Linked DNA regions of Homo sapiens: regions 1 and 3 are each linked to region 2. The links are contacts of gene promoters, found by promoter capture Hi-C in blood cells and fetal thymus (Javierre and others, 2016). All regions are on one chromosome and are shown on one strand. Each heading gives the region's core, a stretch centred on a gene start or on the middle of the fragment in contact. The rest is flanking DNA. Distances are from core to core; before and after follow the strand shown.

Region 1 (2,962 bases), core at 434-2,933, 2.1 Mb after region 2:
TTTTACTATCCACATGGACCCAAAACACATTTCATCACATACAATATATTATTGAATTAAGATTAAGAACAAAACATACTGTATATAGCGATCCAAAACTAACACAGAGCTAAATCCACTTTTTTTTCAGCAAAAATGTTTAAAAAGTTCTGTAAACATATCCGTTGTCAAAAGAGTCATTGCTGAGAAGTCCCAGAAAGACTGATCTAAAATCAATATTTGTTGGGCCGGGCACGGTGGCTCAGGCCTGTAATCCCAGCACTTTGGGAGGGGGAGGCCGAGGTGGGCAGACTGCTTGAGACCAGGAGTCGAGACCAGCCTGGCCAACACGGAGAAACCCCGTCTCTACTAAAAAGAAAAACAAATACAAAAAAATTAGCCGGCCATCAGGCGCGCAGCCTGTAATTCCAGCTACTCGGGAGGCTGAGGCTCGAGAACTGCTTGAACTCGGGAGGCGAAGGTTGCGGTGCGCCAAGATCACGCCACTGGGCTCTGCCTGAGCGACAAAGCTAGGCTCTGTCTTAAATAAATAAATAAATAAATAAAATATTTGTGGCACCAGGAATCAAAGATAAACTTAGAGTTTAGCTACCAATCTTCCATCCAGACTGCTCACAAAACACTTTATATCTTAACCTGATATATGGTTATATGAAAGAAAGCATTTGGAAGCAAGTACACAGAAGACAGTCAAAGAAAATTCCATTGTGGAACCACCAGCAGCCAAGTCACCCTTCACACCAAACCATTCCTCTATAATCTGGAATCTTATCTTTCCCATTCGCCCACAACCCCCATTTTTCACATAGATGAACACCCACCAGGTACTGGGGTCCTTCCACCAAGTCCCTCCCACCTTTGGCACTGAAGGTACGGCTCATCAGTCCTCATAAGCAACCTCCAAAATCTACATTATGGTTACTATTTCTAATGGTAAATTAATCGACGGAACCTTTTTATTTACAAGTCGAAACTTTCTCTGTCCCTTACTAGTTCTGTCTCCAAATCATGCGTGCAGAATTACTCCCACCCTTGGACTGCAAAGTGAAATCACAAAGACCGCTAAGCTCACGTCTCAGAAGCTGGGAACTAAAACTGTCCCAGTCTTCTGGCTGAGAGTTGTACCTCCTAGGACCACGCTGGGGCCCTGCCCTTGCAGTAGTATTCCAGCCTCTGATCCCTGACCCCGAGGGCCAGGAATTTCCCTTCTCAGCGTCCTGACACCTGTTCCTGGCCAACTCCCAGGCCTCCAAAGAACAGATACAGGAACAGCGCCTGTCGGGTCCTCTGGCCTACAGAGAGGTGGCCGGCAGCCCACCCAAAGTGGGCCCCACCCCCCATCCTCCTCTCCGGACTGGGCCACCGGGCGTCCTGGCGTCGGGAGAAGGCTTTCCCCAGGGCTTTCCCGCGTGAGGCGTAGGCCGATCTCCCGACGCGCGGCCTAGTCCGACAGCGCCTCATTCATCCACACATCCCCAAGCCACCCGCTGCCCTGGCCCCATCTTGGCCACTGGGCCCGGGCCCCGCGCCAGCCTCAGGGCAATGAGCCCAGGCGCCGAAGACCTGGCGGAGATCGCGCCCCCGGGCTCCCTGAGGGCCTCACCGTGCTCGGCCTGGGCGATGACACGGGGTCCCAGCGGCAGCGAGAGAAAGGTCCTGCCGGCAGCTGGAGGCGGGGAGGAAGGAGGAGAGAACGCAGGCCCGTCCCCTCCGCCGAGCGGCACGCACGACGGCGGCGACAGCGGCGGAACGGGCGGGCCGGGCGCCGAGCGGCACCTGCGCGCAGACCATGGGCCCCGCCCCTCCCCGCCTTGCCCGCGCGTCCCGCCCATTGGCCTAACCGGCCGGGGAGGCGGGAGTAGGGCGGGAGGAGCCCAGGGTGGGAGGAGCCGCGCGGCGGCAGGGAGCTGGAGAGGGGAAGGCGCTGGCTAGGCCGTTCCCGGGAGCTCTAGTCTTCCGCTTCGGCACGTGGGCTTCTCGGTTCTAGGTCTCCGCTTCCGTCTGGCTGCGCGGCCTGGGTTACCTGCTCACGTTCACTCGCGGGCCTACAGCCCCAAGCTTTCCCAGCTGGACTGCGGAGTGCCTTGGGCCCTGACTTCCCTCCGGGAGATCCGGGGCGTCTGAAGTCAGGCAAACAGCCACACCAGCCCCGAGGACCGCGTGGCCGCTAGCCCATCTCCCTTTTCTATAACTTTATTCGCTCAGTCTGTGCGGAGAGAAGCTGTTAACTAAAAGTTCTTGAAGGAAAAGGGGCTAAGGGAAACTTTGGTCTAGGGATTTCTTCCTCGCCTTATAGTTAAAGCGTCGCACACAGGTACTGGATCACAGAATGCGTTTAATTGAGCCAATTTCCCCCCTTTTCCTCTTGGTAGTTGAGAGCAGGGGCCTTTGAAATTTGGGAATTTCCAATCTGGATTTCGCCACTCATTGACTGTATGACCCTAGACAAATTAACTTCTCTGGACTTCAATTTCGTTCTGGATAAAATGAGGCTATTAAAACCACCTTATGAGGTTATTCGTGTGAGAATAAAATGAGACAATGCGTGTTGAGCTCATAACAACAGTACTCAGCACATACAGAAAAGGCTTGTGAGTAGTCGCTGTTGTTAATATTAGGATTTCATCCCATCTCACCCACATCATATCAATACCATGAGCGCCACTGGAGAAGGAATTCTTTCATTTAGGTCCTGGCCTTCAGATGTCATTCAGGTATTTGTTGTAATGAATATGATACCTGTCCAAAAATTGTGACACTAGAAGCTCCTTTTAAAGGGATTAGTTGCTATTAATATTAAAGGATGTAAATAGGTCGCCATCCCCATTTTACAAGTGAGGAAACAATATCAGAAAGGTTGATTAATTTGGATGAAGTCACACAACTAGTAAATGGCAGCAGCATATTTCAAACCACAATCTAACTGAAAATCTGGCCGTAATCCCAGCACTTTGGGAGGCCA
Region 2 (2,871 bases), core at 211-2,710:
CCCTGCAGGGCGCGAGCCCCACCTGAGTCTGGGTGAGGCCCAGAGAGGCCGCCAGCTCGGCTCGCTCCGGCAAGGCCAAGTATTGAGTCTTTTGGAAACGCCGCTGAAGAGCCGCCAGCTGGAAACTGGAGTAGATGGTGCGGGGTTTCCGGACTTTCTTTGGCTTCCCGTTCACTATCCGAATTTCAGGCTCAAGGTCCTCCTTCTCTGCAACGATAAAGAATCGTAAGAACAGCGCAACCCAGGGGTCCTGGAGTTCCCGCCCTCCTAGAGGGCCCGGCGGGGGGGACTTGGCTTGAGCAAAGAGGTGGGTGCACTGAACTGTGGCGCCACGGGCAGGCGCAACTTCGCAGCGTGCGATCGGAGCCGCCACCGACCCCGGGAGCTGTACCCTCCAGGGAAGGGGGAGACAAGTGCACACCCAAGAGAAAGAAGCTGGTGGCAAGGAGATGCCCTTATGAGGCAGGCAGAGCACGCCCACTTGGCTCTTGAGGCCACCAGGTCCTACCAAAGGAGAGAGGGACGTAACCGGCGACCTGCGGCAGATTGGAGGCTGGGGAGGGTAAAGGGCACAAGCGGGCGGTGAGCAGGCAGCGTGAAAATCCAGAGCTTTCGAAGGCCCCCCGCCCCAAACACGTTTACCCATCCATCCCATTAACTAGACCGACTCGGCACTCTTGACTTCAGCGTTATGCATACCAGGCTCGTTGTTGGCTGGGGACGAACTGGTTCCATAGGGAGCGTAGGAGGTGTAGGCGGCGGTGTAGCCCAGGTCATAGCTGCTCTTGGCGGAGTAAGGGACGTTGTTGAGGCCGCTGGCTTGGTACTGGTAGGAACCCATGTGCGCGTAGGGCGAGCCCCCGCCGCCGCCGCCGCCCGCCGGGTGCTGCTGGTTGGTGTAGTAGCTGCTGTCGGTGGCGGTGGACACCGGAAGGGTGGGCGACTCCTGGGGCTTGTGGAGGCTGCTGCTGCTGCTGCTGTTGCCACCCGGGCCGGCGCCGCCGCCGCTCGGGGGCTGCTGGTGCTGGTGGTACGTGCTGGAGGCGGCGATCTGGGTCGAGTGCATATCAGCCACTAGACTGTCAAAGACTCCAGTCATCCTGGCCCGAGACGGGAAAGAGCAGAGGTGGCGGGCGTGCGGGGGAAGCCAGGCGCCTCCTCTGTCTCTCCCGGTCCCCTCCAGCAGCCAATGTAATTACGGGGGTGGTGGTGGGGAAACAAGAAAGGAGGCAACCGTCTAGGCGCCTCCTCCTCCGGGGGAGGCGATCACCGTGCGCTGCTCGGGACAGCTGCCTCTGGTCGCATCCTCTTTCGGCCTCTGGGCCCGCTCGGCTCCTTGCCCAGCGCGAGCGCGGGCTCTGGCGGGGGGCGGGCAGTGGAGGGGGCAGGGGTGGCTGGGCCGGGTCGGGGCTCTGGGAGGCGGGAGCAGGTGAGCGGCCCCGAGCGGCTTTACGATTGTCTGCCAGGCGGGCTCCTGAAGTGTGGGCATTTAACACTCGTCACGTGAGCGCTGGCGACGTCACCTAGCAACAGCCAATCAGAAGCAAACGGCCGCGGAGCTCCGGGAACGCCCGGCCAAGGGGCGGGCGTCACATGGTGGGCGCTGTGGCTGCGGCTGCGGCTGCAGCGGCCCCAGGTGCAAACAGACTGCCGCCGAATGTGAGCAGCGAGGCGAGGGGTCGAGGTAGCGAGGAGTCAGGGTGGCCCGCAGCAGGAAGACAGAAGGCGTGGAGACAGACTGGCGTTTTGCCTCAGAGGAAGAAGTGGGGTCCCCTCTCCCATTCTGTGAGCAAGTGCCAGTTCCAGTGATTCGTACTTTCATGTCCGAGGTCAGTTTTCAAACACATTAAAGTACATCGGTGCCCAGAGTCCAGCCAGCTCTATCTTCACTTTTCCTCGAAGTGTCTGGCATTTATTCTTGTTAGCCACTCGGCACTTGACATAATCAATTGATTTAATTATCCACAAACCACGTGTAATGCTCGCTTCTTAACCAATCCGCAGGGATATTAGGACAATTAATCATATAATATTGAAACGGGTTTTCCTTGTTGCTTCAAAGAGAAGCTACATAAACTTAAAGGTATTATTGCTAATAGTATATTTGAAACCACTTTCCCTGGTACTTTCCCGACACGCGAGACTCTGAGTAATTATATACGTTTGATAAGTAAATGACACCCTGAAAGCCATCCCGAGGACTTCCTCCTTCGGGTGGAAAGGTTCACCAGTTGTCCTTGAAAATTCGATGCTCTTGCGAAAAAGGAAATAGGATAATAGGTGAGATTATAGATTTATCAAGTAGATACTAGATTTATCACTTCTCTGTAAATTTACAACAAATATAAAAAGTTTTATCTGGTTTGTTGAATTTAATCCTGTTTTACAGTTTTGCATTTTAGGACCCTGTTCTACCCTATCATTGCAATTTTTTTCTTTTCCCTCTGTTTTTTAAAAAATCGGAAATGGTGACTTCCTCTGTCTCTATAACCTTGTAGTTGGAAACCTTGGCCCGACGGTGATGGACTGCACGACTTGCTGGACTCCCAAGTCCGAAGTTCCTGCGGCAGCGCTTGCTTTGTGGCGCCACCTGGTGGGCAGTGTGCGAGGTTGCGGGGGGCGGGGTAGACGGTCTAATCACGCCCAGGCGCCAGCCTCTGAAACCCCCCAAAAGAACAAAATAGTAATTAAAAGCCACAAAATTGTGCTAGTGCGCACCATCTGAAGCACCCTTTCCTAAAGACATAACATGTCGCTGAAAGAACTTGTTAAAACAACTGTCTGATAGAAAACAAGTTGATACCTTCAAAAATATGATCTTTGGTCTTCTTCCCCATAAAAAGCAAGTGTGTAATTAAAACTCCAGCATTC
Region 3 (2,836 bases), core at 310-2,809, 2.2 Mb after region 2:
GAATGGCTCCATTTGCTGTCCTCCCTAGAACTCTCGTGTTTTAAGAACCTGGGCTTTTCCTTGGCTTTTTCCCGGTTATGGTGACTGCTAGAAAGTTCTTCATGAAGCTTTCTCTTCTTAGACTTGTCCTTCTCTTCAGAATCACTGTTGTTATGCCCTGAACACTTGTTTTTCTTTCTTTTCTTCCTTTGTATTTTTTTTTCTTTATTGTTACTCTCACTCTCACTACTGCTTTCTGAAGTCTCAGTAGAGGAAGAGGAGGAGGAGGAGGAAGATGAGGAAGAAGAGGACTTATGTTTTTTGTGTTTACTTCTGCTCTTCTGAAACTTTTTCTTTTTTCTATCTTTTTTCTTTTTTTTCTTCTCCAGTCGATCTAATTTCCTGTAATTGGGAAATAAACAGTAACAGACTGTGTGAAAAACAGTTATTTCATCAACTGTAAGTTATGAACAAACAATATATTTTCTTAGAAGTTATTAAAAATAGTATCCATGGCAGAGCGCGCTGGCTCATACCTGTAATCCCAGCACTTTGGGAGGCCACGGCGGGCGGATCACAAGGTCAGGAGTTCGAGACCAGCCTGACCAACATGGTGAAACCCCATCTCTAGTAAAAATACAAAAATTAGCTGGGCATGGTGGCACCTGCCTGTAATCCCAGCTACTCAGGAGGCTGAGGCAGAAGAATCGCTTGAACCCGGGAGGCGGAGGTTGCAGTGAGTCAAAATCATGCCACTGCACTCCAGCTTGGGCAAAAGAGTGAGACTCTGTCTTAAAAAAAAAAAAAAAAAAAAAAAGAACTGGTATCCATATATGAACGCATTGTTTACTAAATGACAACTCATTTTCTTCCTTTAAAATTATTCAAAGCGTGAATACATTAAATTAAAAAATTAAATGCATCAAGCCAATTTTCTGACTATACTTCAATAGTAATGACTACTTTTTTGTTAAATTCTTACTGAGTTGAAATTATATAGCACTCTAAAGGGTCATCCTAAAGAAAGCCTGTGAAAGGTGTGTAACATCAGTTGGAACTACTAAAAAAGCAAATATATAGCTATAATCAGATGAAAAATTAATTTTATGTACTATTTTATAGTATATAAATATTAATCAACGTTATCAAAATTCAAGAGAATATTCTCCAGAAATTCTGAGTAAGAGTACACATTAAACTTCTGAAATATTGGTTTTATAAAATAATATAGTTAATACTTGTTTTCAACAATTGTTTAGTTTTATAAATAGGACAATCCTATTAAAACATTCTGAATTTCTAGAGTACTTCACATTCTTGGAGGAGTAACTTGTTTATATGGTATGTTTGAGTTACTCTGAAAATAAGTCTCTAGGTTCTGTCTAGCCATTCTCAAAACTCTACATACTGAAAGCATCATGAGCTCCCTCTATTGGACCCAGCAGACATTTCTTGGATTCTTTTAATTCAGAGGTAGTCTGTTTAACAAAATTCACGTTTACCTTAAATTTAAGCATTCTTTCTGCATTCTCATAAAATTTTACAAAACATTTTAAAAATGGCCAAAAATGTTTCCTAAGAACAAATTGTGTGCGAAGATACACACAAATCTATTTTGAAAAGTAAAAGCTATAAATAAGTCTAATTCTAAATTAAACATTCTGAAAAGTGCAATCGTTTTGTGGTACAATCTGAGTATACAATCTTACACTCATTTCCATGTTACTGAAAAGACAGACAAAATTGTATTAGCTATGGGTGAAGAATAATCAATAAATGTGATGCATGGTATAAGGACCTTCATGAGCTCTTAGGATCAGAGTTGAATACGATACTGAGATGAATACTAAGGAAAAAATAAATCTATTAAATATATACTTCTAAATTACCTGAGAAGTTTCTGTTTTTGTTTGGTTGTTAGTGACTTTAAAAATTCAACTTCTGGATCTTCTTCACCCTCACTTGCAACATACTCCTGAGTCAACAAAGATATCATTAAATTGCTAGATTTCAACACAAGGTAGTTAGTAGATAAAAAAGAAAACATTTATAAATAAGTTTTGTATCAGGGACACACTGTAGATGAATATGATATTTTGGATTGGGAAGTGGGAGAGAATTAAAAAATTTTTTTGTAGTCTCCCTGCCGAAGTGGATCATACAGCACTAAGAGGTTAACATGACTGCTTTGCCAGCATTAGGAAACTTTTCCAGGAAAAGGATGATAGACACACACAGATAAAATGTTTAGAGCATGACTTCCATTCTCTATCTCTTGAATGTTAACTCTTGCCAGTTTAAATACTTTATTTTTAATTTAATGAAATATAAAAAAGAAGATTATGAGTTTTACAGGAATGTCAAAATATCCACAATTTTAGCTTTTATTATAATTTCAACAGCACATTATCAAATATATAATAATATAGCCCTTCAAACTCAATCATTTTCTGGATCTATGTATAGTTTAATAAAATAAATAAGTTTAAAATATTTTCTACAATTTTTAGGAGTTTTTACATACTTCTAACCATTGGTTCTATTTAATGTCATATCAGGGGTAAGTTAGCAGGAAGGAAAAACCAACAACCTCATCACCAGTTCAGTTAGATATTTTATCCACATAAACTCAGAGGAGCAGTTTCATTTATTAAAATACAGGTTTATAAACAATTTCTCATTTAGATTAAAATAATAAAGCAAAATCAAAACACATTTTGGGCATTTTCTTTGCTCTATCTTACTTTCCTATGGATATATGCATATTGGAAAACATTAAGTAGCAATTCACAAGCAATCACATTTAGATTTATAGACATTTTCAGCTTACTGATAAAAAGATCATTACCTGTGATGG

Evidence for each region. Contacts are between HindIII fragments. The CHiCAGO score rates a contact against its expected background, and 5 or more counts as called.
Region 1: a contact is called between the fragment with the promoter of OLA1 here and the fragment with the promoter of DLX2 in region 2, in 1 of 17 cell types (total B cells). The highest score is 7.7, in total B cells.
Region 3: a contact is called between a fragment that was not itself captured here and the fragment with the promoter of DLX2 in region 2, in 1 of 17 cell types (total B cells). The highest score is 7.0, in total B cells.

What each region holds. Positions count from the first base shown.
Region 1 is chr2:174,246,849-174,249,810 of GRCh38, forward strand. It overlaps OLA1 (Obg like ATPase 1), which reads right to left and starts at 1,684. Exons shown (of 11, transcript NM_013341.5): 1 at 1,604-1,684. RefSeq lists a silencer at 1,470-1,989. The HindIII fragment of the contact is 2,463 bases long and covers 1-2,056 here.
Region 2 is chr2:172,101,440-172,104,310 of GRCh38, forward strand. It overlaps DLX2 (distal-less homeobox 2), which reads right to left and starts at 1,461. Exons shown (of 3, transcript NM_004405.4): 1 at 700-1,461; 2 at 23-207. The coding sequence starts at 1,099. DLX2-DT (DLX2 divergent transcript) reads left to right here and starts at 1,567. Exons shown (of 5, transcript NR_126376.1): 1 at 1,567-1,829; 2 at 2,499-2,593. RefSeq lists a silencer at 1,263-1,462. The HindIII fragment of the contact is 7,057 bases long and covers 1-2,871 here.
Region 3 is chr2:174,348,792-174,351,627 of GRCh38, forward strand. It overlaps CIRSR (corepressor of RBPJ and splicing regulator), which reads right to left. Exons shown (of 10, transcript NM_004882.4): 8 at 2,828-2,836; 9 at 1,869-1,954; 10 at 1-381. Among named protein-coding and RNA genes, the nearest start is that of SP9, 15 kb to the left of the region's middle. The HindIII fragment of the contact is 2,909 bases long and covers 106-2,836 here.